Linked DNA regions of Homo sapiens: all the other regions are linked to region 2. The links are contacts of gene promoters, found by promoter capture Hi-C in blood cells and fetal thymus (Javierre and others, 2016). All regions are on one chromosome and are shown on one strand. The core of a region is centred on a gene start or on the middle of the fragment in contact, and the rest is flanking DNA. Distances in the headings are between cores, read along the strand shown.

Region 1 (4,353 bases), core at 1,854-4,353, 76 kb after region 2:
TGAGAGCCAGTTTTCGATGTCAGAAGAGCAGCAGCTCCTGTGTCCTAGGTGGGGCTTTTCTGCAAGGCTGAGAAATCTGGGGTGCTGTTCTTACTGTCGGAAGCCACCCAGTTTCCCCTTGTCTTTATGTGGGAGTTTGTGGGGCCTGATTCAATAGCTAACCCAACCCCAGTGGCAGAGAAACAAAGTTTCTTCTGAGGGAAGATTAACGATTAACACAAGTCACTGTGGAAGCTTCAAATACACAGAGAGAAGAATGTCAGAGACCAAGAGAAAGTTCCAGAGTCTGGAGCCCAAGCAGGCTTGGGTGGGGTGAAGGAAGCACATGTTGAGGCACGCAGGACTGTCCAGTAAGGAGCTGATAACCAGGGAGAAGGAAATTCCTTTGCATCCAGGGCTAAGGTCCAGGGAGGGCATGAGAACACACCAGCTTCAGAGGTGGCTTCAGATCATCCAGGGCCTGAGACAAGCTGGGTGACACCAGAGGACAGACAACTAGGCAGCAGGTTCCTGCAGGGCTGAGAATCCTACCAGACATAGCAACAGGTTCCAGCAGCCCCTGCTGTCAGGGCTCCTGGGTGGGGACTTGGTGAAGAAGGGGACCTGGGCACAAACCTAGAGGAGAGCTAAGTGAGGCAAGAGTCTTGGAGCTCAGGTGTCCTGGTGGGGCTGGCACCAGCCCGGAGCAAGGTGGGGCATTAAACTGTTTGACAGTGAGGCAGGTGGGTGGGGAGGGCAGCAGGTACACTGTGTACCGGAGCTTCTAGGCAGGTTTCAAAGTAGACTCTCAGCCTGTCTTTACAAATAACGCCATTCAGTCATTCATTCATTCAGTCAGCCAGCCAGCCAGCCAGCCAGGCAGTCGGTCTATAAATGCCAGTCACCAAGCAGCTTCTGCACGCCAGGCACTGTGTGAGGATGGAGATGGATAGGGACCAATGGCTGCATGGACACAGTGGGAGGCTGACCTTGGCCTCAGGTTCACTGGCTGTGGAGCCAGCAGGTGCTCCACAAACATTTAGGTGTGTGTTTGGGTAAAGGAGGGGTTAGATGAGGAGGAGGAACCATCTGAACACCTGAGTTTTAAGGATGATTTGGATTTTCCAAAGGCCACACCTAGTAACAGTTTGTGTTTTGAGTGCAGCTCTGAATCAGAGACCTCAGTTTTATGGCAATTGCCTATGGAAAGATTGAGGGAACCCCTGTTCTTGTGTCCCCAGGAAAGAGAAGTTCCTTGGCAGGGCAGAATCTGACCATCGTGGAGTGAAGGCAAGCATGTGCAGGTGCTCAGGGGCTTATCACCTACTGCCTCCCCCAGTGCCTTCACCTCAGCTGTGTCACGATGTCACTCTGAGAGCTCCCCTAGAGCGAAAGCAACTCAGGATAGAAGCAGACATTTTAGTTTTGGCTTTTCCCTTCCTTTCTCCGACCCTGGTGCCCTGAGTAATGATAAACTGAACCTTATTTCCACCTATTCTAATTCATGCCCTTCTTACTTTAGCAGAGCTAGAAACACCCACTGTTTAGAGCCACTCAAATATTAAGCATCTTTATTTCTACTTAAAGGGATTTATCTTAGCACCGATTAAGGCTTACCCACAAGGCAAGGCTCTTTCTGTGTCCTCACGCTGTCACTCCTAAAACTTTCCAGAACTACAAGTGACCCAGCTCTCAGTCAGGAAGGGCTCCCCTTTCCACCTCTAATCAATTTTCTGCCTGGGCTTAATTTCCTCCATAGACATTAGGGAGTCACAAGGAATTAAAACAAAGGAGAACACAGGATTTCTGTGTAAAATTCTTTTCTTCCTAGGGTTTGTTTTTTTGACCTTGGTGAGTTATTTCACCTCTGGTGGCCTCAGATTCCCCAATCATCCCTTGAGGAGTGTGAACTAAAGGCTCTCTGAGATCCATAATCTCAGTGGCTCTCAACTGTGCTCTGTCTCTTACCCTGGGGAGTTCATGATCTGTAGAGGAAAAGTGGGCTTCCTCATCAGAGAGCTCCTAGAATGACAGGCATGATGGGCATATGTTAGGCTCCCCACTGAGATTTGTTGAATAAATGAGGAAATAAACACTGTGGTGGGGACACCGTTGCTTTAAGCAGGAACAGCTCTGACCCTCGGAAAGCCCCCAGGAGATACAGACCCAGAAGGAGGAGGAAAACCTTGCAGCCAGCAGGATCTCTAGGTATTGGGGCTGGAGCTGGCAGTGGGCAAAAGTGGAGAAGGATTCAGCATTGAGGACCCCATGGATGGGCTGCAGGGAGGCAGGTAGAAAAGGCTTTTGGGTTTTCAGGTGGGGGGCAGTCTAGCCTGATCAGAAAGGAGGAAAAGGCCAGGGCCAGATGTCTGGGTGGAGTGAAGGGAAAAAGTGATCCCAGAAGAAGGATTAGCCCCTGAAAGTCCCTGAAGTAGGAGAAGGGTAAAGGTGTGGTTGGTGAAGGAAAGCAGGTTTTCCCAGATTAGCAACCAGTCAGGGGGAGGAAGGTGAGAGTGGGAGAGTCATAAGTAAATTATTCTGAATGTGTGTAGTTTAATGGAATTGGGAAAAAGATGGGGGAAATGGATGGAAGGGTCTTGGACTCTGAGACAAGGGGTCTATAATCAGTCCATTTCATTATTTCTAGCTTCCACCTTCACCAAGGCAGACAAGGAGGGCCCACCTCAGCTCCTCTGCTCCCCCTCCCTTTCCCACCTATTCATGTGTGCAAGAGTGCCCTGTCCCACAGAACACGGGGAACAACCATCTCAATGACAAGGACAGCAGGTGGCAAGGCCTCAACAGGACTCAGATGTCCCCCCAGGGTTAACTCATGAAACCCTCCATGAAGCCTGCTGCTCACCCCTCCCTCAAGGCAAGCCCTGCACCTGGGTCTGAGGATGAGGGTGGCAGTGAAAATTAGGCCAGTGACATCATTTTCAGCCAGCCAGTGCCAAAAAATATCAGGTGGTGTTCATCAAAAAAGCTGAGCCAACCGGTGATGAGGATGGTAGTGTGAGTCATGTGTGACAGGTGAGGAATGAAAACAGAGTGCCCGAGAGCTTCTATTTCCTTGAGGCAGGGCTCATTCATCTTATAAAAGCCAGCTGGCCATTGCCTTCACACCAAACCCAAGGGACCACACAGCCCATTCTGCTCCGTATACCAGGTAAGTCTCTGATTGCAACAAACTGGCAATTCTAGTGTACTTTTTCATTATTAGAAATTAGCTAAAGGCAAATATGTGTAAGCAGGTTAATCCAGGGTTTCAATGGGAGATAGAGAATAGTGGAATATCTTTATTTTAAGTTAAATTACAGTCTGGATTTGAAAGGACCTTAGAGATGGTTAGGGCTCCCACCTCAGTAGATAGTCATTGAACTGGGAGTCCTGGAGAAGATTGTTCAAATGCCCATGGGAAGTTCATAGCAGAACTAGAACTCAGGCCCAGAGCACTCTCAGTAACACTGCAATTTCCCCCTGACAAGATATTTATAGAAATTTTAATTTATTAGATGGATCTCTACTGAGCATTTATTCCATTTAAGGCAGTATGCTAGGCACTTTGGACAAATCAATGCCTAACGTACTTACTTAACAAACATAAAACCTAGCAGGAAGGTAATACATATATATAAATAAATGAAATGCAAAGTAGATAGTAATTGGCATGACGGAGATGGGCAGAGAAGGGCTGTGCACTTTTGGGAGACCTTGCTCAAGGAGACCCTCCTAGGGGTGTCAAGTGATGTGAGCTATGATGGAGGGGTATTTGGACAAGCAGAGATGGGAAGAAAAGCATTTGGAAGGGACTGTGTAAGCACAGACCAGAAGCAAAACCATAGAGGCTTAGATGAATATAAAGCCATCCTATAAGTCACAGGCTTTCTACATGGTACTAGGAGAGGAAAGTGGTCTGATGCCATTTTCCAAAAGACCTAATATGCGGACCTCATGTCCCTCAGAAGCCAGCTTTAGTAGGGCATTTTTCCAGAACAGATATAAGTTGCCTTGGGTAGGAAGGGAGCCAAGAAGAGAACTCCAATAAAATGGAGCAGAAGAAATTGCCTTTTAGCTCCTCCTCTTCAAAGGGCCTGAAAATTATCCAAGCTTATTTCATTTTTAAATGTAATGGGGGAGTTAAGGGAGATGAAAGGCTTTCTCTTCTAAAGGGTCCTGAAATAAAATCTGTTTGGCATTGAATTTGTATCCATCTTTCTTTAATTGAATCACTGTGTCAGCTTTCTGTCTCTAGAAAAAAACACATTTGAAGCATGAATTCTCAGCAGCAGAAGCAGCCTTGCACCCCACCCCCTCAGCCTCAGCAGCAGCAGGTGAAACAACCTTGCCAGCCTCCACCCCAGGAACCATGCA
Region 2 (3,961 bases), core at 796-3,295:
TCTGAGTCTGCTGCCCCAGACTGACTGTCACGGGCTGGGAAGAGGCAGATTCCCCCCAGATGAAGTCAGCAGCAGAGCACAAGGGCATCAGCGCCAAAGTAAGGATGCTTGATTAGTTCTTCAGGGCAGAGTGGGCTGTGCTTCCTCTGCCCCAGAAAATGGCACAGTCCCTGTTCTATGGGAAAAAGAATGTGAGGTCCCTGGGTGGGCTCAGGGAACAGAGAGGTCATGAGGAGGGGATAGCACTGCAGAAACCAAGGGTGCCTTGTGAGTCCTCCCTCTGTCTTTTTAGGCATGATCCAGGAACATGACAAAATTAGTGCTTTAAATAGATTTACTTGGGGCTAAGAGAAATGTGCCTGTCAGGAAAACTATGGGGAATCAGGACACTTCTCAAAATTAGCCCCACTGAGTATTGTCTTTATAATTCCTTCTTTTTGGATTAGATTGTAAAAAAGAGAGTGTAAATGAATGATGTCCATATAATAAGTTATTAGCCAACCATTAAAAAGAAAGGGAAGAAATAAATCAGTTTGGTTTTTACACACACATACAGACACACACATATAAACATTGATCAACACTGAAATGTTTAATAGTCATTATTTTCGGGTCGTAAAATTCACTGTTCTTCAATGAATACTTGTAGAGCACATATTATATGCAGTAGTTTTGATAGGTTCTAGGGGTATAGTGGAAAACATACCAGGTATACGCTGCTCTTAGCTTATTTTCCAGTGGGAAAGATAGACAATAAGCAAGTGAACAAATGCAAATAAATTACTCTAGATTGTTATAAGTGAAATTAAGTACCAATCCTTTAGATATGGTACACAGAGAAGGATCTCTGACAGACCCCAACATTGACACTGAAGCTGAAAGGCATAAAAGAACCAGAGACCTGGGGAGGGGCCGGTGGGCAGAAGGAGAGCAGGTGCCAAGCCCCCAGGTGGAGAGCTCTGGGCTCATCTCAGGAACCGAAGGCCCTCAGTGAGGTAAGAATATACCTCTCAGGGAGAGATTGACATGAATTGGGGCCCCAGAAGAAGGCAGAAGCCAGGTACCCAGGGTCTTTTAAACCACGGCAGTGAGTTTGAATGTTATTTCAAGTGTGCTGGTGCACTGTTGGCACGGGGGAGAGATGTGCTCAAATCCCCACTCTGAAAGATTTCTTAAGCTATTTCTAGAGTATGATTTACAACAGGAAATGGATGATTTGATTCTGATCTTTATACCTTCATGCATTTAAAAAAGTACTTAAGAAAGTAGTTTGGTTTGTCATTATAAAAAGCAATACTTATTTTTATATTGTGTAGATTCAATCTTGTTTCCTTGCCTAGAGTGGGCCGTGCTTTGGAGTTCTTATGAGCATGGCATTCCTGAGAACTTCTCTAACTGCAGCCTCGGGCATAGAGGCTGGGCAGCAAGTGGCAGCAGCAGAGGACTCCTAGAAGCCTTCTACTTGACTCTACTTGGCCTAAAGTCAAACTCCCTCCACCAAAGACAGAGTTTATTTCCACATAGGATGGAGTTAAAAAATATATTCTGAGAGAGGAAGGGCTTGTGGCCCAAGAGAACACCCCAGAAATACCACCCCTTCATGGGAAGTGACTCTATCTTCAAACATATAACCCAGCCTGGACATCCCCGAAAGACACATAACTTTCCATTTCATGCCCTTGAAAGTGAATCTTTTGGCCTAATAATGAGAACAAACTCATTTTGAAAGTGGAAAAATTGAGATTCAGAGCAGAAGTTTGACTAAGGTCACAAAACAGTAGGATGCCTCACTCAGCTCCCTGTGCCTAGGTCAGAAAAGCATCACAGGAATAGTTGAGCTACCAGAATCCTCTGGCCAGGCAGGAGCTGTGTGTCCCTGGGAAATGGGGCCCTAAAGGGTTTGCTGCTTAAGATGCCTGTGGTGAGTCAGGAAGGGGTTAGAGGAAGTTGACCAACTAGAGTGGTGAAACCTGTCCATCACCTTCAACCTGGAGGGAGGCCAGGCTGCAGAATGATATAAAGAGTGCCCTGACTCCTGCTCAGCTCAGCACTCCACCAAAGCCTCTGCCTCAGCCTTACTGTGAGTCTGGTAAGTGTCGGATGGTAGAACCAGGGTTGGGACTCGGGACCTCCAACAGCATACGATGTGGTGGGGGTGGGCAGCCTGGGTGGGGGTGGGCATTACTCTGGGGCTGGATTCAGCTGGACTTTCATTCTAGGGGGACTCGAGTCAGAGTACTGAGAGAAAAGTGCCTTGGCACAGAAGTGCAGAACAGAGAGTAATCATCCTATGTCCCATCTTTTCTTGTGACCATATTTTTGGATTTGTGTGTGAGAGAGAATTATGGAAGGGAGGAGGGGAATAGCATTCAACTTCTTTCCTAAACCTCTTGGGTTTTGACAGACCATCATTTTGCCTTCTTTATGGAGGGAGAGGTTCAGGGAAGAGCTTCTACCTTTTGGCTATGCTGCACAGAGGGATGGCAGAATGGGGAAACCTTTCTATTTGGAGAAACCTAGGCAGAGCTGGGACAGGAAAACTCAACTTAGAAGTATAAGACTTGGAAGAACAACCTCCAACTCTCAGCAACCTTCCAGCTCCCGCAGCCCCACCCCAGACACAAGGACTGCAGCTAAACCTCAGAAGGTCAGGAGAGAAAGCAGCCCTGGGGTTGAATAGGCCAACCTGCTGGCTTTACAGGGGGGAAAACCAAATCCCAGGAGACTAAGTGACATGCCCAGAAACACACAGCATTCCAATGGGAGATTCAGGCCTAGAGCATGTCCTGTGGCTCCAGTCTGGAGGTCACACCATGACCTCTTAGGTCCTCTCTGGCACGGCCTATTGGTTTTCTAGGACTTGGTGTTCTCCAAGAGACATTTCATTCCCTAAGGCCTTACTCCTCACTGTGACATAATCCCAGAACGCATCTCTGCTCCTTGGTCAGTGAAGCGATGAGGGTGGACACAAGGACTAGACAAGAGCAGACAGTGAGCTGGCACCTGACCCACCCTTGCAGAACAGCCCTGCAGACAGATCTCCTTGTTGGCTCTCACCTGGGAACAAGGAGGCTCCTAGGAGGACCTTTCTCTGCCCCTCCACATTTCCACCCTTCTCTCTCTGCTGCTTTTGGGAAATGATAGTCCAGAGGTGGTAGAACAGTACCCTGCCCAAGGGAAGAGGGGATGCTAAAAAACCAGATACTTCTGCAGATTCCCAAGGTTTCATCTATTTCCTTTGCCTTCAGCCTGTGCATCAGACCTCTTCTGTCTTTCAGGTTGACAGTAGCTTCTAAGATGTCCCAGCAACACACACTGCCAGTGACCCTCTCCCCTGCCCTCAGTCAGGAGCTCCTCAAGACTGTTCCTCCTCCAGTCAATACCCATCAGGAGCAAATGAAACAGCCAACTCCACTGCCTCCCCCATGCCAGAAGGTGCCTGTCGAGCTCCCAGTGGAGGTCCCATCAAAGCAAGAGGAAAAGCACATGACTGCTGTAAAGGGACTGCCTGAGCAAGAATGTGAGCAACAGCAGAAGGAGCCACAGGAGCAGGAGCTGCAGCAACAGCACTGGGAACAGCATGAGGAATATCAGAAAGCAGAAAACCCAGAGCAGCAGCTTAAGCAGGAGAAAACACAAAGGGATCAGCAGCTAAACAAACAGCTGGAAGAAGAGAAGAAGCTCTTAGACCAGCAACTGGATCAAGAGCTAGTCAAGAGAGATGAGCAACTGGGAATGAAGAAAGAGCAACTGTTGGAGCTCCCAGAGCAGCAGGAGGGGCACCTGAAGCACCTAGAGCAGCAGGAGGGACAGCTGAAGCACCCGGAGCAGCAGGAGGGGCAGCTGGAGCTCCCAGAGCAGCAGGAGGGGCAGCTGGAGCTCCCAGAGCAGCAGGAGGGGCAGCTGGAGCTCCCAGAGCAGCAGGAGGGGCAGCTGGAGCTCCCAGAGCAGCAGGAGGGGC
Region 3 (4,385 bases), core at 932-3,431, 110 kb before region 2:
CCCAGGAGGGATGGTGTCAGACCTCTCAGGGTGATGTGGCCCACACACCTCACTGAGCCTGTCTCAGAGTGTGTCTCCTATGAGGGTGGCCTGAGTCATAAGGAATAGCTGTTTATAAACTGTAAATCAATGCTAATACCAATGAGAGCATTTAAAAGTCATTAAATATCCATTGTGCACATAGCTCTGTGTTGAAAAACGGAGGTAAGAAGTATGAAACACCCAAGGCAGGCCATCAAAGCATTTACTGTTATCTCATTAGAGTGATATGCCACATGAAGGATAAATAAAAAAGTGGGATTGAGCCACACTGTCCTGGAAGGGTAGAGGCCACGGCATGCACTGCAGGGAGAAGCATAATCAAAGTACAGAATATAATCCAGTTCAGTTTCAGAACATTTCTGAGAGTAGATGACAAAGGCTTAAACTAAAGGGAGAACACAGAGTCTTATTTCACTGAAGGAATTTGGACATTTACCCTTATACAGTGTGCAATCATGAACAAGACTTTACTAATGATTTAGTGTTAATTATGTACAGGGATGGAAGATGTTTTCTTGGATGTCATAAAAGAACAGAATCAAAGACACACTACAGTGTTTGGAGATACTACGTTATCACAGGAGTCTGGGCAGCTGTAATAATTGATGCTCTGAGACAGGTGGTACACACACATATACATCTCTCTCAATATGTATGCTCTGTATATGTGTTTATAAATATACATGTATCTCCACCACGTTTTGGTTAGGGTCACCATGTCCATTTTGACCTAGATATCATTCCCAAGTTCTGGGCATATCCAGAGTCTGTCAGGGGCTGGGAAGAAGAGGACTTGTCCCTCATATGGTTTAATCTGGCTTTTCTTGGTCTTCCTCTGAAGAAATAGTTTAATTTGTGGATAACCTTGCAGTCATGGCTGTCTTAGTGACTAGTGTGTCCTAGAATGAACAGCAGCCCATTTCATTAATATCCTAAAAATGTATAAATTCAGAACACTCCATTCATATAAATCCTGTGGACATGTAGAAAGCTAGTGATTCTAGTGGAGAGAGAGGAGAGGGGCTTCCAAAGTAGCAGCATAAACACATTCACATTAAATATTAAGGACTCTTGTTCTTAAAAGGCACCCGTCCCCTTATGGTCCAGGACGGGGTTCTGCCAGCCATTTGACCCCACATGGAAGCGTAGACTTATAATGTCTCACAACCATGTCTCTTTTCTTCCTGTTTCTCATCTGTGACCATCATCCGGTGCTCCCAGTGTGAACCCAGAAAAGTCCAAATTCTCACACCAATACAAAGAGCAGAGCTGCTGCTTCTTGTTTCTCTAATGAGCTGCTTCCTTGTTCACATCTCAGTGCTGACACATCAAGGACCCCACCAGAAGAAAAGGGCTATTTAAAAGCAAACAGATCACCAAACAGCCAGACTCACTCTCATTAGAAAAAAGCTGTGCTTCGTTTGTTAAACAAAGATCAGTATCTTCATTCTGTATTCAGCAAGTTATGAATGTTTCACTTATTCAGAGCCTACAATGTTTCAGTCTCTCTGTCAGGCACATTTTCTCTTTTTTGTGTTACTTTATTGACTTTCACAACCAACTAATTCTTCTGTAACTAATTCTTTTTCATCTTCCAGCTTTATGGTTTAAAAAATGGTACAGGCTAAATAGTTTCAACAGTCCCATCTCGCAGGGCCTGGTCCTGGGCCGGGTTATACTTCCAGGGTTTTACTTGTGTAGATGTCTACACTGCACCCACAGCCACACAGTTTGGTGGTGCACAGGGACAGAAATAAACATGCATGGAAACCTCAGGGATTAGTACTTCAACTTCAACCCAGGCTGCACGGAGCATCAGGTACTTCGGAAGAGACAGAAATGAGATAGGTCCTAAGTTCTAAGACTGAGAACTGAGAGGCTCTCAGGGCAAGCAGCCTTCAAGTGAATGAGGTAGGTGATGGTAGGAGTCATCCTGGAACCCCGTTTCAAGTAGGCACTTTCCTACCTGGGAGTGGCTGCCTTGAGCCTGGGGAGAGAGGCAGGTGAGGAGCTGTCAGTCACCAACCATCACAAGACCCACGTGGGTGTCAGAAGGAAGGTCCTCTCATGCCCAGGCCCTGTCTCACAGCTGGGGCAGAGCCCAGGCCAGGATAAAAGGGCTCAGGGCCAGACCACCCCATCCACTCACCTCCTGAGGTGCTAAAGAACCCTGTGCTGCCTGTGACTCCGGTAAGAACAGAGCAGGGATGCTCAGAACAGAGCAGGAGGGAAGGAGGGGCAGGGCCTCCGGGGCTAGGGCCATGTTGTCAGAGGTGGAGAGTTTAGAAAAGACTGAAGGGGCGGGGGCCAAAAGGGGTCTGGCACTAACTGGGAGCAGGAAGGAAAAGAGGAAAAGAGCTGGCGGGCTGTGCCATGTGCCTTTGAACTCTAGAGGAAACAAACTGCTCTGGGATGAGGTGGGTGTTCCAGAGTGGGAACTTTGAAGCACAGAGACCTGCTCCACTCTGGCAGCCCACAGGAGGGAAGCCCACCTCTGAAGATACAACCCTGTCTCTGCCTGCAAGGGAAGAACTGGAGCTGTGGACATGGGACTAAAGACTCTTTGGGGTTTATGAACCCCACATTTTCATGGGTCTGAGATTTGTTCACAAACTTCCCAGCTTGGTTAGGACACACCAAGCCTGAGACCCACCGTGTCATCCCATCAGCCTGAGCAGGTGGTGAGTGAGGAAGTCTGAGCTCCAACCTGAGATCAGGGGGTCAGGGTTCAAGTACTAGTCTGCAGAAACTGCTAAGTTTATCTGTCTCTATTGAAGTGAGTTTACTGACCTAGTAGTCTCCAAGATCCTGCACAATGCTGACCTTCCAAAGTAAAATCGTCTTGCAAATTATGACCAGAGAGAATGACTGCTTCTTCTCCTTTAAAAATAATTTTCTCTTAAATGACTCATAAATTAGACAATTTCAGTCTTAAGATATATTTGTAATAATTTCTTCCTCCACTGACAACACATCAGAATCTTAGATGCATTTTGCAATATTGTTTAGTCTTAGTTTACAGTTGTCTGACATCCAAAGATATCTTGAAAAAGATGATGTGAGATTTTGAGGAAATTATTGGAAATAAAACTACTGAAGATGATGCTTTTAAACTTGAGAGGTGCTAAGAGTGTCACAGGGGCAGAGGTGGCCTCTGCCTGGGTCTGACTTGTTATTTGACTCTCCCTCAGCTCCTGAACACCCACCACCGAGATGTCCTGCCAGCAGAGCCAGCAGCAGTGCCAGCCCCCTCCCAAGTGCACTCCCAAGTGCACTCCCAAGTGCCCCGCCCCTAAATGTCCCCCTAAGTGCCCTCCAGTCTCTTCCTGCTGCAGTGTCAGCTCCGGAGGCTGCTGTGGCTCCAGCTCTGGGGGCGGCTGTGGCTCCAACTCTGGGGGCTGCTGCAGCTCTGGGGGTGGTGGCTGCTGCCTGAGCCACCACAGGCGCCACAGGTCCCACCGTCGCAGACCCCAGAGCTCTGACTGCTGCAGCCAGCCCTCGGGGGGCTCCAGCTGCTGCGGTGGGGGCAGCAGCCAGCACTCTGGAGGCTGCTGCTGAAGTGGACCTTGACTTCCTCTTCCTTCTGATTCTGCCTGAATAGCTGAGAGGTTCCAGCAAAAGCTTGAAGTCTTGCCTGGAGAATCCCTCTGCTCTGGTGTCAGGAAACCCAAAATCTTTCTCCTTAATGGCATTTAGAGACTTTCTTCTGCAGATCCATGGCTGCCCTGGGAACTCCAAAGCACACACCTACTTCCTCCCCAGCTCACGCTACTGTATTCTGTGCTGCCTGAACTGAAGAAATAAAATCCAGAATCTGCTCCCCAATTTGCTACCAGCCTGCTTGATTTTCCTGTTTGTGTCATCCTTGTTCTGCTCCCCTGTGTCTGCTGGTGGCTGCTGAGGCCTTGGTGGACAGAGGATGGGGAAGGGGTCAGGAGGAAAAAGCTTGCATTTCTGTGTGTTTTGTGTTTTTTCTTCTTTCTGTGTTTTCCTTTTAAACCAAGGGACTGAAATAGCATTGAGAAATATTTTTCTTTCAAATTCTGGTTCCTTTCACCTATGTAACCGCATCCCTCAGGCATGGCCAGGAGGCCGACTTCATCCTCCTTCTCACTGTCACCTCTTCACTCTTGTGTTCCTCGTTCCCCACTCCTTCCACTAACAATCTCCCCGGACTCCTCCTTCAGATTGTATGTACACGTAGTAGACATATAAATATATGTGTGTGTACATGTATATATATACACACATATTTATATATACTCACATTATATGGAATAAATCTTTAGTTTTTAAACTTAAATCACTTTTATTGATCTATAACTTTCACACAATAAAACCCC
Region 4 (3,978 bases), core at 1,297-3,796, 88 kb before region 2:
TGGCTAGCCAGTTTTCCCAGCACCATTTATTAAATAGGGAATCCTTTCCCCATTTCTTATTTTGTCAGGATTGTCAAAGATCAGATAGTTGTAGATATGAGAAGGTAGCCATCTGTAAGCCAGAAAAGGAGCTCTCATCAGAAAACAAATCGACTGGCACCTTGACCTTGGTGGCTTCCCAACCTCCAGAACTACTAGAAATAAATTTCTATTATTTAAGCCACCTAATTTATAGTATTTTGTTATGACAGCTCGAGCAGACTAATACACTGAATTATTACAAGCCTAGCCAGGGGGTGACTCCATTTACAGATGTACTAGATGTGGTATTTCCTTGAGCAAATTAGCATATCCCCTATTATGCAGCTATTGATCTGGATTTTTTTTCTTCTTACCTATTAGTAATGACTACCAGAATCAGGTTGTTTTCAGCTGGCAAGGGCAGCAATACAACTTCACTGTCTTACCTGCCACCATGGCCACTTTGTTCATGAGCTCATTGGGAAATGACAGGAGAGGCTGGGCAAAGAGTCTGACTGGTATCCACAGAATAGGTTATCCTATCCACTTATTTATTAAAGTCTCTGCTAAGGTTATTGTTTAGTAAACATTCATATGGAACACAAATATCTTACATTTTTTGCTCATTTAAAGAGCTCTCTGCACATACCCCTTCCCCTATTCTCCTTGAGTAGCTATTGTTCTCCTCACCCTGTCCTCTGCAGGTGGTGGCCTTGGAACTTCAGGGGCCAGTGGGACACACTGGCTTGAATTGGGGTCAATGAGGGCAGGAGTGGGAAGGGACTTCCAACGCTGTTTGTCCTATGTCAATTGGCCTGAAGCAGCATTGCTTGTGACCAAGTCTGAAATGTCTTTTGTAAACACAGCTTCTTTGCCTCTGGTCCCCTTCAAGGCCCTGACTGGTCTCTCCATGCTCCTCTCCCTCTGTGAGCGCCACCTTCTCCTCCTCACCTAGCTCCACCCAACATCCTTCCTCCCTCACACATGTATGCACATACACACACATCACATGCAAATACACACACTTCCACACAAGTACAGGTGCACACGCACGCATGCACACATGGATGCATGCATATGGAAGAAAAAAGAAAAGAAAAATAGATTAATAAAATAGAAAGCAAAAAACAGAAATATATTTTGAAAATACAGTTTTCCCACTAACTACTTCTGAAATCAGTTTAGTTCGAGGCATATCTTTGTGTAAAAATTGCACTTGTATTAACCTTCCATTAAATGTCTCTTTCTTCCTCTTCCATCTCCATTAAATTCTCTGCACTTTTTTCCAGAACACATTCCCTATACCACATGTCTGAAATTGTCACTCTACTTCCTCAAAACAGAGGCTTTCTATAGAAAAATGCATGTGCTTCTTAAGTATTACATTTGAGACTCAGCAGGAATTGTTTCCAACTTCTTTTCTAAGGTTTACCATTCATACTTCCCATGACACCCCATGTTCTTGCCGCACTGAGCAACTCATAACTTACACTTGTATATATTCATCCTTTTTTTTCTGAGAAGCTGTAAGTAGAATTTACTATTCATAGCTCTGTATCTAGAATACTATAAGTCTTCAATAAAGAGTAGCTTCTCTTGATATTTTATAAGTGTTGCCACTACTACTACTGCTACCCTTAGTATCACTACTAACTACTGTAATCATTACTTACTATTACTATTAGCAGCATTACTTGCTATTTCCTCTATCTGAAGTTCCTCCAAATCTCTCCCCACCATCTGGACATTGTGTAATTCTGTCCCTCTTTTAAGGTTCACCTCAAATGTCATCCTTCTATGAAATCTTATCCGATTGTGTGTTTTCTTAAGCTGGTGGATGTTAAAAAATCTGTCTACAACCCTCACATTGAGCAAGCTTAGCTTGGAGGATGTAATAAAATTATAGCTTTTTAAAAATTTAAAAATTTTAAAAGTAAAATTGTCCTTAAAATTTTACTCAGTGGGATGGTTTTCCTTCCTAAATGACAAGTTGAAAGGCCAACTGACTTTACAGCTCTTTCAAAGTAATGCAAAATGATTTGTTACTTGAAATCACAAACGTGGGCCCAGTGCAGTGGCTCCTGCCTATAATCTCAGCACTTCGGGAGGCCCGAGAGAGAGGATCACTTGAACCTAGGAGTTTGAGACCAGGTGCGGCAACAAAGCAAGACCCCATTTCTAAAACAAAAAAATTACAAACTTGGTTTCAGTTCAGTAATGAAATATCCAGTCAGAAAAACAATATCAACGCCAAATTTGACTGGTTGGTTGATTGATTTTTTTTTTTTTTTTTTGAGACAGAGTCTCACTTTGTTGTGCAGGCTGGAGTGCAGTGGTGCAATCATGGCTCGCTGCAGCCTCAACCTCCTAGGCTCAAGTGATCCTCTCACCTCAGCCTACTGAGTAACTGGGACTACAGATGCACACCACCATGCCAGGCTGATTTTTGTATTTTTTTTTTTTTTTTAGAGACAGGATTTTGCCTGTTGTCCAGGGTGGTCTCGAACTCCTGGCCTCAAGAGGTCTGCCTGCCTCGGTCTGCCAAAGTGCTGGGATTACAGGCACAAGCCACTCTCCCCGGCCCCAAATTTGACTGAATGGCATATTTGCCCATATCCCTGCTCCAGTGGGCTGGCCCACCATACCAGAGAAAGGGAGCCTGGTCCTTCTACTCATTCCCCACCTAATGTCTGTCCTTCTCCAGCTTTCTAAATGTATTTTCTGAATGGAGAACAAAGAAAAGGCTCAGTCTGACATGTAGGCGCAATATCCTTCTGATACTGGAGCAACCAGGAAGCAGAATCCAATTTCTGACTCCTCCACTCTTGGGCATTTTAGTGTCTCCCCTCTATCTGTGATGTGAGTGATGCCTCTCCAGGGTGAATTTCTTGAAGTTCAGCCTTGGTTCCAGAATCTTCTCTTAGACAGTGGATAAATGGCTAAGAACAGTTGGTCTTGACAATGTGATCAACATCTGGTCATAGAAAGCACTCATGCATCATTTGACCCATGCTTGCAGAGGAACTAGAAACTCATCTTTGCTTAGATGACAAAACTGGTTTCATTTCCTCCATGTTTCCTGAGGGAAGAGTCGGGTCCTCATTCTGTATATCCCCCATATCAGGGACTCACCTGCAGGCTCCTCCCAGGGAAAGGACAAAGAGGGCAGGATCCTAAGCTTCTAGTCCTAGGAAATTCTCTTTCTTCCTTTTGTTTGCCGGAAATCTAGAGGATTTTTCTTATCCACCACAAGTCCCATTCTGATAAAATACTTATCTGTAACTTTCACATAATTAAACCCCAAACCTTGAGACTGGTGCAAATTTAAAAAAAAAAAAAAGAATGTAATAGTATATATATATATATATATATATACACATATATACACACACACATATATGTATGTATATATACACATATACGTATCTATGTATACACATATGTATGTATACATATATATACTATTAAATCTCTCTCTATATATATGTATATATACACAAAGAATTAAAATATGATGATGCAGGTGATGGTTATCAATGGGGAAAAGATGGCTATTCAATACCTGGAGTTAGGGAATTTTGATAACTGAAAAAAAAACGTAAACCCTCATTTAGTATTAGATGCCAAGACAAAATCCATGGGATTAAATATTTTGAGGAAATCGAATTATAAAGAAAGAAGTACTTGTAGCTAAATGTTTATCTTCTCCCAGGATTGAGAAAAACATTCTCAATATAAAAACAATTAAAGAAATTATAAAGAAAAATAAGCACAAATACATGCATATTAAATTAAATATTTTGCTAGAGAAGAGGAAAACAAAATTAAGTAAAATAATTTTTTGAAATATTTTAATATATATGAAATATAATAGAGTAATACCTTACTATATAAGTATGTGTTAAATTTTACATATGTATAAATTTCTTAAATAAAATATTTTACACAGATACAAAC
Region 5 (4,381 bases), core at 1,779-4,278, 93 kb after region 2:
GATATTAGACCGCAGAGCATGCTTCAGAGACAGAGAACCAAGGCCTAGCTCCCTGAGCCAGCCTCATGCCTGGGGCATCTGCACATAACCCAGACCTAAAGTTGCCAGTGCACTTATCTCCTTTAAATCATGATGTTAACTTGCACTACTTTTACCAGGCCGGTTCCAGGGTTTTAAACTCCACAAAAATAAATCAGGATCAGAAAATCCTGTTCAGAGGAATATACATAAATGTCTGATAACAGGATCTACACCAGAGTTCCAGTTGCTCAGAGTGGCCACACTGTTCTTCCACAATCCAGATTCCAAATATCTATTAATACATTTACACTTAAATATTTACATATGACTAGTGCCTACTTTATTGGACGGCTCAGTTCCACAGTCTCCAAAGACAGGCCTTACATCAGTTCCAAATTTCTTATATTAACCCACCAGATGATTCCTCTGACCTTGGCCTAGGCACTGATTTCCATCACTGGGCAATGTTTTTCTCTTTCTGTATCTTAAATGGAGCATGTATTTCATTATATACCCTAGCTTGTGTTCCCCCAAAACTGAGCCTAAGACAATATCTTATGTGAAGCTAGTTTCTTTGAGAATGTAATCATAGAAAAGAGGAATGTGAAATAAACAGGGGTGAAGCTAGGCAAAAGGAAAAATCAATATATACAAAGAATATGTTACTAAGTAGGCAACCAGGAAGGGTGACTGGAACTTGATCCCCAGGATCTCAGCTGACAGAGAACTATGTCACAGAAGGGTTTCCCCTAGAAATGAAAGAGGAAAGCATTATCTACCAGTTCATGTCCTCCATTGGTGGAGTGTGGCCACTAGATGCTAACACTGAACTTCAAGCTTGCATATCCACAAGTGCATTACAGATTCCTACAGACAGCTCACGCTGGGGCATCAGAGGCCCTCAGGTGAGGAAAGAAGAGGCAGAACTCTAGGCAATGTGTGTGAGTGGTCCACATAGCCATGGTAGAAAACAAGAGCAAGATCCAGAAGATTTGGAGAGTGCCTAAGAGGCACCCAGTACCATCCACACACAAGTCCCAAGAAAGTCCCAGGACAGTGCAGTTGGATGACTCACAGCCTCCTGCCACCAGAGAAGGGAGCCAGTGGGAAAGACTAAGGTACCTGGGGAAGTGGGACTCGCCTTCAGAAGCCACTCAATGTATCCTCTCTAAAACTGAGGCCAGACTTACCAGCACACCCAACACTGCTCATGAGAAAACAAAGCTTCTCTGAAAGAGGCTTAACGTTCAGGCGCTGAGTGTGTTTGACTAAACAGGAATAACAGGGTTGGGGTAAAACGAGAATTTCAATAAGCTGATGGCAGAGAAGCTTTTGTTGGGGTGAATGAGGCAAGAGTTAGAGAAGGGCAGGAGAGAGCCCGCCCAGGGAAGGGACACAGGAAATCAGAAAGGAATTTCCTCTAGAACCAAGGTGCAGAATCGAGGAAGAAAATGAGGGAGACCAGGATTCATAGAGGAGCTTCCTTCCTCTGGGGAGGAAAATCCCAGGTGGAGCAGCAGGGTCTAGCCGAAGCCCCCAGGGTCTGTGGCTCCTGAGAGGTGGATTTGCTGAGGAGAGAAACCTGGACCCAACACTGAAAAAGAGCTAATGTGATGACAGAGCCCAGAGTTTAGGCATGGCAGTGGCCCTGGCCCATCCCAGAGGGAAGTGGCCGGTCAAACAAATGCTAGCAGAGAGGGAAGGACATGGGTGTGGAAGGGAGGGTAAGCCTCTTCTCCTTCATGAATTATCAGCTCACACCTCTTCTCAGCTCACACCAGGAGGCCTGGCACAGGACAGTGAATCATGCCCAAGAAACTGCCTTGTGGCTTCCTGCCTTCCTCCCTCCCTCCCTATCTTTCCTCTTTTCTTTTCTCTTTTCTTTTCTTTTCCTTTCCTTCCCCTCCCCTTCCTTTCTTCCTTCCTTTCTTTCTTTCTTTCCTTCTCTCTCTCTCTCTTTCTTTCTTTCTTTCCTTTCTTCTTTATCTATCTCTGTTTCTTTCTCACTTCCTTTCTCCCTTCCATGAACCTACAGCTCTATTCAGGAGAACAATGACTGTCCATTGACTTAACACCCATGATAACCAGGCACTGTGTGACGCTGAAGTAGAACAAGGGGCTTTCAGAACCTGGTGGAAGGAGCTGGGCATCAGGTTCAAGGGAGTAACACAGTCGTGGAACATTGGGAAAGGAGGAGCTATTCACATGCCTGAGATGTAAGGATGTCTGGATTTTCCAAGGGCCGCGTCTAGTAAGAGAGTGTGTATTGAGGGCAACTCTGAGTTAGTGACTTGAGGTTCATCCTGTAGTGATCAGAGGAAATGGCTGGTGTATGAACCTAGGGAATCAGCACGCTCCTCTTCCTATGTCACTCCTGGAGAAGAAAGATACCACAAGAGGCAGGGTCTTCAGGGCTGAGCCACAATGTCACACAGATCCAGTCAATCCTGCCTGTCCATCTCAATGACATCTACTATCCCTGATCAACACGGCACCTTAAGGCGCCCTTCACAGTGAAAGCAACTTATTTCCAAAGCAGGCATTTTGCCTTCCATTGCTCCTCCCAGGTCCAAATCCAGTAAGAGACTGAAAATCAGATGATTCACTTATTCTGCACCATCCCCATGGCCTCGCAGAACCAGAAATGCCTATTGTTATTTCCATGTCCACTTCAACCATGAGGAAGCCCAATAGGACTAATCTGGCTAAAGATTAGGGCCCAGGCCAAGAGGCCTGGCTCGTTCTAGTCCTAGGAGCATGGTACTTCCTCCTAATTTAATCCATTGCCATTCAAGAAGACCTTTGCCCACAGCAACCACACCACAAAGGGTGGACAGTGAGTCAGGCCCAGGTGACATCACTGTCAGAGCTTAAGTGACAAAAAATGTTAAGCCAGAGATACTTATCACAAAAGCTGGAATGAAGTTAGAGCAGTCTTTTAAAAAATCCAATTTTCTTAAGGCAGGGCTCATTTTCTATATAAATACCAGCTAACAAGAGACTCTTCACCAGATCCCAGAGGCTGAACACCTCGACCTTCTCTGCACAGCAGGTGAGTCTCCGCATTAGGAACACCTTAATATTCTCCAATAGTTTCTTTATTTTGATTGAGATCTCTTTGCTATGCAATGAATATATTTATTTTAAATGCAATAACGACTTTTGTTTAAGGTGACCTTATACATATTTTGACTTTCCACTCAGATTACAGGTGTGGAACTTAGGATCAGAAAAGGGGAGTGATTTCTGTAAAGGCTTGCTAAGTTAGCAAGACAATATACCCACTTCAAGAGCACTCTCCTGTCAACATGTATTGAAAATTTTTAATATAGAAGGCACTACATTGGCAATTTTGATGATCAAAAGATAAGTTTTTCTTTATTGCATGAATGTATAATCCATTAGAAAACATATACTTGACTAAAATTTGCAAACATACAGCATGGGGAGTGATTAGCAGAGAGGGAAAGCAAGTATCATGCTGTGGCAAAACGAGGAAGGTGAGAGCATCAGGAAGGACAGCCATGAGAGGTGGGCATGTGTGGGGAGGCAGCGATGATGTGGAGAGCCTGCCAGAGAGCATGTGCAGCAGGCACAGTGTGAACAGAGGCTCCCAGGTGGATTGTGGGAGCCTTAGGGGGAAGTTTAGATAAGAGTTCTCCTGGGAGAACTATCGCACTCTATAAGGAGGACATGAGTGAGTAGATTCTAGACTGCTGACCTTAAAATCTTTCCAACTTATGGAAAAACTGAGGTGTCACATCAATCTTCAGCCAATGACACACAGCCAAGAGTGGTATTAAAAGTGATTTAATCAGGGAAGAGCAAGAAACATGCATTTCTTTTCACTCAATTCCTCAGATGATCCCTGAGCAGCTGAAGACCAGAAAAGCCACTAAGACTTTCTGCTTAATTCAGGAGCTTAGAGGATTCTTCAAAGAGTGTGTAAGCGAAAGCTTCAGAGTATATATTTGCATATTTGTATGTGTTTTCATGTTGTACGTAGGTTTTTAGATGTACCAGGAAGAAAAGAAGCATAAAGAAAGGCTCCATTTACACGATGTGGAAGAAATCAACTTTACCTTATTCTCTGGAAGATAAGTGGGGATCACCAAAGCATCCCATGATCTCAAATTCAGGGAAAAAGAAAGAAAAGAGAGGCTCTCAGTTCTGAAGGAGAATGAAATGACAGATATTTGTCATTAAACTGGGCTTCATTCCTACTTAATCAAAGCACTGAATTAGCTGTTTTGTCTCTAGGTCCAGCATCCTTTGAAGCATGAGTTCTTACCAGCAGAAGCAGACCTTTACCCCACCACCTCAGCTTCAACAGCAGCAGGTGAAACAACCCAGCCAGCCT
Region 6 (3,983 bases), core at 691-3,190, 70 kb before region 2:
TTAGAGATTAGAATGTAGCAACTCTGTGTAATGATACTCCTCTCCCTTTAAGGTGTGCTGTTGCTTGTTTATTTGTTTGACTATTTAGATAGACTATATTAGTAAAGTCTATTTCTCCTGAAATGGGATGTCTCTGATGTCACTCCTCAGGGGACTCAACCCTGGGCTTGCTCACAGTTACCCTGAATGACAGTAGGTTTAGCAGAACTCTCTTTGGTTGTCTCTTCGATGATTTCTCTGTTAAGCTATCTCTGTTGGCATCACACACAACTGTTAGGCTTCACAACAGTTGCTGACAGATTGGTTTATTATTTCTGATAATGTCCTAGAACACAAACAGAAATTGCTTCATAATTGAAGCCAATTAAGTCTAGGCCCCTTTTCAAGGGTAGTGTTTGAGGCCAGGTTTGAAATTTGTTCTAAACTCGGGAAGACTCTACTTAGCCCTCACTTTCCTTGGTTTTCTCTGGTAAACAAGCTGCCCTATGGTTTAGCATATTGCTCTTATGACTCAACAGCCTCTTCTTAAATGCTTGCCAACAAAATCTCTCCCATTTACCAAAGTGCCTTTAAGCTTGAACGTCCCCACACTCTTTTCCAAATATAGTCAGTTCCTTTGGTGAGAACTTTGGAGTTCTCTGGGTTTTCTGGACATCCTCTTCCCTGGACAAATTCTCTTAGCCACTGCTTTTGAGCTGAGGGCAAATGTCTCCTGGAGCTCACTGCTGATTAATGAGCAGAACACTTTAATGGGGTGGCAACCACTATTCTTCTTGGATTGTTTCTCCCACCATCGATCCTCCACCCTACAAGTGAGCTGGGACAAAGGACTTTGGTGTCCCAATATTCTTGCCCTGCTGCACCTGAGGTAGAGTGACTGCCTGCCCCATGAGTGGGAGATGGGGAGTAAGAAAGCCCCCAATCTCTTAGAGTCCCCCTCCTGGAATTTAGCCTCTATACCACAGAACTAAGGGAAGAGGTGTAAGAAATGTTGGCAGCCTCCCCCTCACAGGAAGACACTGGAGGCCATGATTTGGAGCTAAAGGGGGATGGAACCTTATCTCATTGATTGCATCTTCCAAGAGTGGAGCTAGCATCATGCCCAACTGGAAGAGATTAGGGAGGGTGCAAGTTGTGATTCAAGTGCCACAGACTATTGTTATTGTTACTATGATTTAGTAGATTTTCTTGAATAAAAGTTTTTTAATTTGCTCTATACCCTTAGGACAATTTGCAAAGGATGATTGCAAAACTTTTTTTTCAAGTCTTAATTATTTTGCTAGGAGAAGGGTCCAAGGAGTTCTTCATGCCACTGTTCTGAAAGTCCTCCCTAAAGGGATTTTTATTTAATTTGTCTTAGGTTTTCCATAAGGCTTTTTAGAAAATACTCTGAATTGAGATTTTATGTATTTATAGATTTCTTTTATAATTTAGTCTTTAAAAGTTTTTTTAACATAGAGTTGTGAACAACCTAAGCTGTGGACACAGTTTTTTTGTATTTATTTATTTATTTTTAATTCTTTTTTTTTTTATACTTTAAGTTCTAGGGTACATGTGCACAATGTGCAGGTTTGTTACATATGTATATATGTGCCATGTCGGTGTGCTGCACCCATTAACTCATCATTTACATTAGGTATATCTCCTAATGCTTTCCCTCCCCACTTCCCCCACCCCACAACAGGCCCGGTGTGTGATGTTCCCCTTCCTGCTGTGGACACAGTTTTAATTATTTTCTTCTAAATCTTAGAAGCTTTCTTTTCTCTTTCTTTGGATGATGAGAAAGGGAAAAAAGAGACTTACTCGTCTGATGAAGAAAACACTACACTAAGCTCTTCTTTTGCCAATGACAATTTATTCTATTGAAATGGAAACTAAACCACTTATATCCAATGGTCTACATCAGGGGCATCCAATCTTTTGGCTTCCTTGGTCCACATTGGAAGAAGAAAAATTGTCTTGGGCCACACATAAAATACTATTAATACTTGGGCCACACAATAATACTAACAATAGATGATGGTCTAAAAAAAATCACAAAAAATTTCATGTTTTAAGAAGGTTTACAAATTTGTGATGGGTCACATTCAAAGCCGTCCTGGGTCACATGGGGCCCACAGGAGTTGAACAAGCTTGGCCTAGATTAACAAGCCAGTTCTGATGATATTATAGTCTTGAGTACAAGTCAGGATAATTGGTGGTTTGGATACCATCCTACCTGGAGGAAAGAGGTAGGACCAGATCTCTTGGCCTTTCTTCCTAAGAAAACATGAGCAGGGCTGGGTTCTAAAATAAGAAGTACCTGTAGAAAACATGATATAGATTTCTTTTATTTATTTATTTATTTATTTATTTTTTTATTATACTTTAAGTTTTAGGGTACATGTGCACATTGTGCAGGTTAGTTACGTATGTATACATGTGCCATGCTGGTGCGCTGCACCCACTAACTCGTCATCTAGCATTAGGTATATCTCCCAATGCTATCCCTCCCCCCTCCCCCCCCACCACAGTCCCCAGAGTGTGATATTCCCCTTCCTGTGTCCATGTGATCTCATTGTTCAATTCTCACCTATGAGTGAGAATATGCGGTGTTTGGTTTTTTTGTTCTTGCGATAGTTTACTGAGAATGATGATTTCCAATTTCATCCATGTCCCTACAAAGGACATGAACACTCCCCTCAAACTAAACTCTTTGGCACAGTCTAAGTAAAAATATAATAGTGTTCAGGAAATATAGTTGAGGTGCCCACAGTGTGATGTGGACAATCCCAAACTCACTGTAAGTGTCTGATTTCATCATGGCCTGAGTCTGTATTTCATCAGAATTAATTGACTCAGGACATAATATTTGAAAAGCATTCTGTAAACTAAAGTTCTTTGCAAACATCTGTGATGGGGATTTTTAAAAACTTAATAATTAACAAACCTAATAACTAGTAACTGTAATGAACCATTGTGTACACTGAAATGGGGCTTGAGATATACAGATAATAGCCCCATGTTCAAGGCATTAACAATATCACATACAAGTACAATTGTTTATGATAATAAATTATATGTATAACAAGTAATAAATGCTCTGAAAGATTTTCTCAGCCAGGCATTGTCTAGAAATTCATTACAGAGAACACGGGATTTGAACTGGCCCTCGGAAGTAGTCTCAGAAGAGGAACCAAGAAAGACAAGAAGTAAGACACAAAGAAAGACAAAAAGAAAAAGAAAAAGAAAGAAAAGAAAAAAGAAAGGAAGAAAGAAAGAAAGGAAAGGAAAGAAAGAAAGAAAGAAAAAAGAAGGAAGGAAGAAAGAAAAAAAGAGAGGAAGAAGGAAGGCAGGCAGGCTGAGGAAATAAGAGGAAGACAAAGAGATAGAGTGGAAAAGGGAGGAAGAAAGAGAGGTAGAGACAGACGGACATCAGACAGGATAAAAGCCAGTTCACCATACAATAAATCCATCCATTCAGCAGAGGAGGAGACATAATGAAAGGAAGTTCCAGAAGTTAAGCATAAAGCGATGGGATAGGTTCGAGTATACACAGGGACTTGAATGCTGGCTAAAGGAATTTAGATTTATCCGGAAGACATCAGAGTGTTCTGAATGAACACTTAACAGTCAGGGCAATTATTCATTAAAAACATAAAGCAAAATAAAAGAGATTTTAAAAATATATTTGAGGAGTTACTTCAGGAATAGTTAAATGATTTGAGATATCAGAAAGAAATTGACCAAAGAGAAACCCAGTCATGGGAAGCCAAGCAACTTCATTTGAGGCTGGGGACCTAGAGATATCTCTTGCTCAGAGAAACAGTCTCCTGAATAGAGACCAGGAATGAGATGGGATTATTCTCAGAGATGGGCTCCTGTCTTCAGACCAGGTGGGGACTCTGATAATGGTGGGAGCTACATACTTGAGACACTACCTTTCTAATTTGGTACATTTAAGAGGACTAGTTGTATTCTCAAGCTACAACTACAGTTTGCCT

Evidence for each region. Contacts are between HindIII fragments. The CHiCAGO score rates a contact against its expected background, and 5 or more counts as called.
Region 1: a contact is called between the fragment with the promoter of SPRR1A here and the fragment with the promoter of IVL in region 2, in 2 of 17 cell types (naive CD8 T cells and naive CD4 T cells). The highest score is 5.6, in naive CD8 T cells.
Region 3: the fragment with the promoter of LCE1D here is called in contact with the fragment with the promoter of IVL in region 2 in 11 of 17 cell types (neutrophils, endothelial precursors, erythroblasts and 8 more); the score reaches 14.7 in neutrophils.
Region 4: a contact is called between a fragment that was not itself captured here and the fragment with the promoter of IVL in region 2, in 3 of 17 cell types (naive CD8 T cells, activated CD4 T cells and non-activated CD4 T cells). The highest score is 5.8, in naive CD8 T cells.
Region 5: a contact is called between the fragment with the promoter of SPRR3 here and the fragment with the promoter of IVL in region 2, in 1 of 17 cell types (naive CD4 T cells). The highest score is 5.4, in naive CD4 T cells.
Region 6: a contact is called between a fragment that was not itself captured here and the fragment with the promoter of IVL in region 2, in 1 of 17 cell types (naive CD8 T cells). The highest score is 5.3, in naive CD8 T cells.

Annotation. Positions count from the first base shown.
Region 1 is chr1:152,980,978-152,985,330 of GRCh38, forward strand. It overlaps SPRR1A (small proline rich protein 1A), which reads left to right and starts at 3,104. Exons shown (of 2, transcript NM_005987.4): 1 at 3,104-3,148; 2 at 4,235-4,353. The coding sequence starts at 4,254. The HindIII fragment of the contact is 3,855 bases long and covers 233-4,087 here.
Region 2 is chr1:152,906,501-152,910,461 of GRCh38, forward strand. IVL (involucrin) reads left to right here and starts at 2,046. Exons shown (of 2, transcript NM_005547.4): 1 at 2,046-2,089; 2 at 3,279-3,961. The coding sequence starts at 3,298. RefSeq lists promoters at 1-3,286, 1,147-2,086, 1,806-2,040, enhancers at 1-813, 1-95, 246-728, 1,647-1,926, a cis regulatory region at 1,396-1,892 and silencers at 1,661-1,713, 2,086-3,286. The HindIII fragment of the contact is 6,184 bases long and covers 1-3,961 here.
Region 3 is chr1:152,794,540-152,798,924 of GRCh38, forward strand. LCE1D (late cornified envelope 1D) reads left to right here and starts at 2,182. Exons shown (of 2, transcript NM_178352.3): 1 at 2,182-2,232; 2 at 3,234-3,642. The coding sequence starts at 3,256. The coding sequence ends at 3,600. The HindIII fragment of the contact is 8,213 bases long and covers 1-3,661 here.
Region 4 is chr1:152,817,968-152,821,945 of GRCh38, forward strand. No RefSeq gene overlaps it. Among named protein-coding and RNA genes, the nearest start is that of LCE1A, 7.5 kb to the right of the region's middle. The HindIII fragment of the contact is 1,302 bases long and covers 1,896-3,197 here.
Region 5 is chr1:152,998,721-153,003,101 of GRCh38, forward strand. It overlaps SPRR3 (small proline rich protein 3), which reads left to right and starts at 3,029. Exons shown (of 2, transcript NM_001097589.2): 1 at 3,029-3,073; 2 at 4,282-4,381. The coding sequence starts at 4,301. The HindIII fragment of the contact is 2,627 bases long and covers 1,349-3,975 here.
Region 6 is chr1:152,836,560-152,840,542 of GRCh38, forward strand. No RefSeq gene overlaps it. Among named protein-coding and RNA genes, the nearest start is that of LCE6A, 4.3 kb to the right of the region's middle. The HindIII fragment of the contact is 379 bases long and covers 1,752-2,130 here.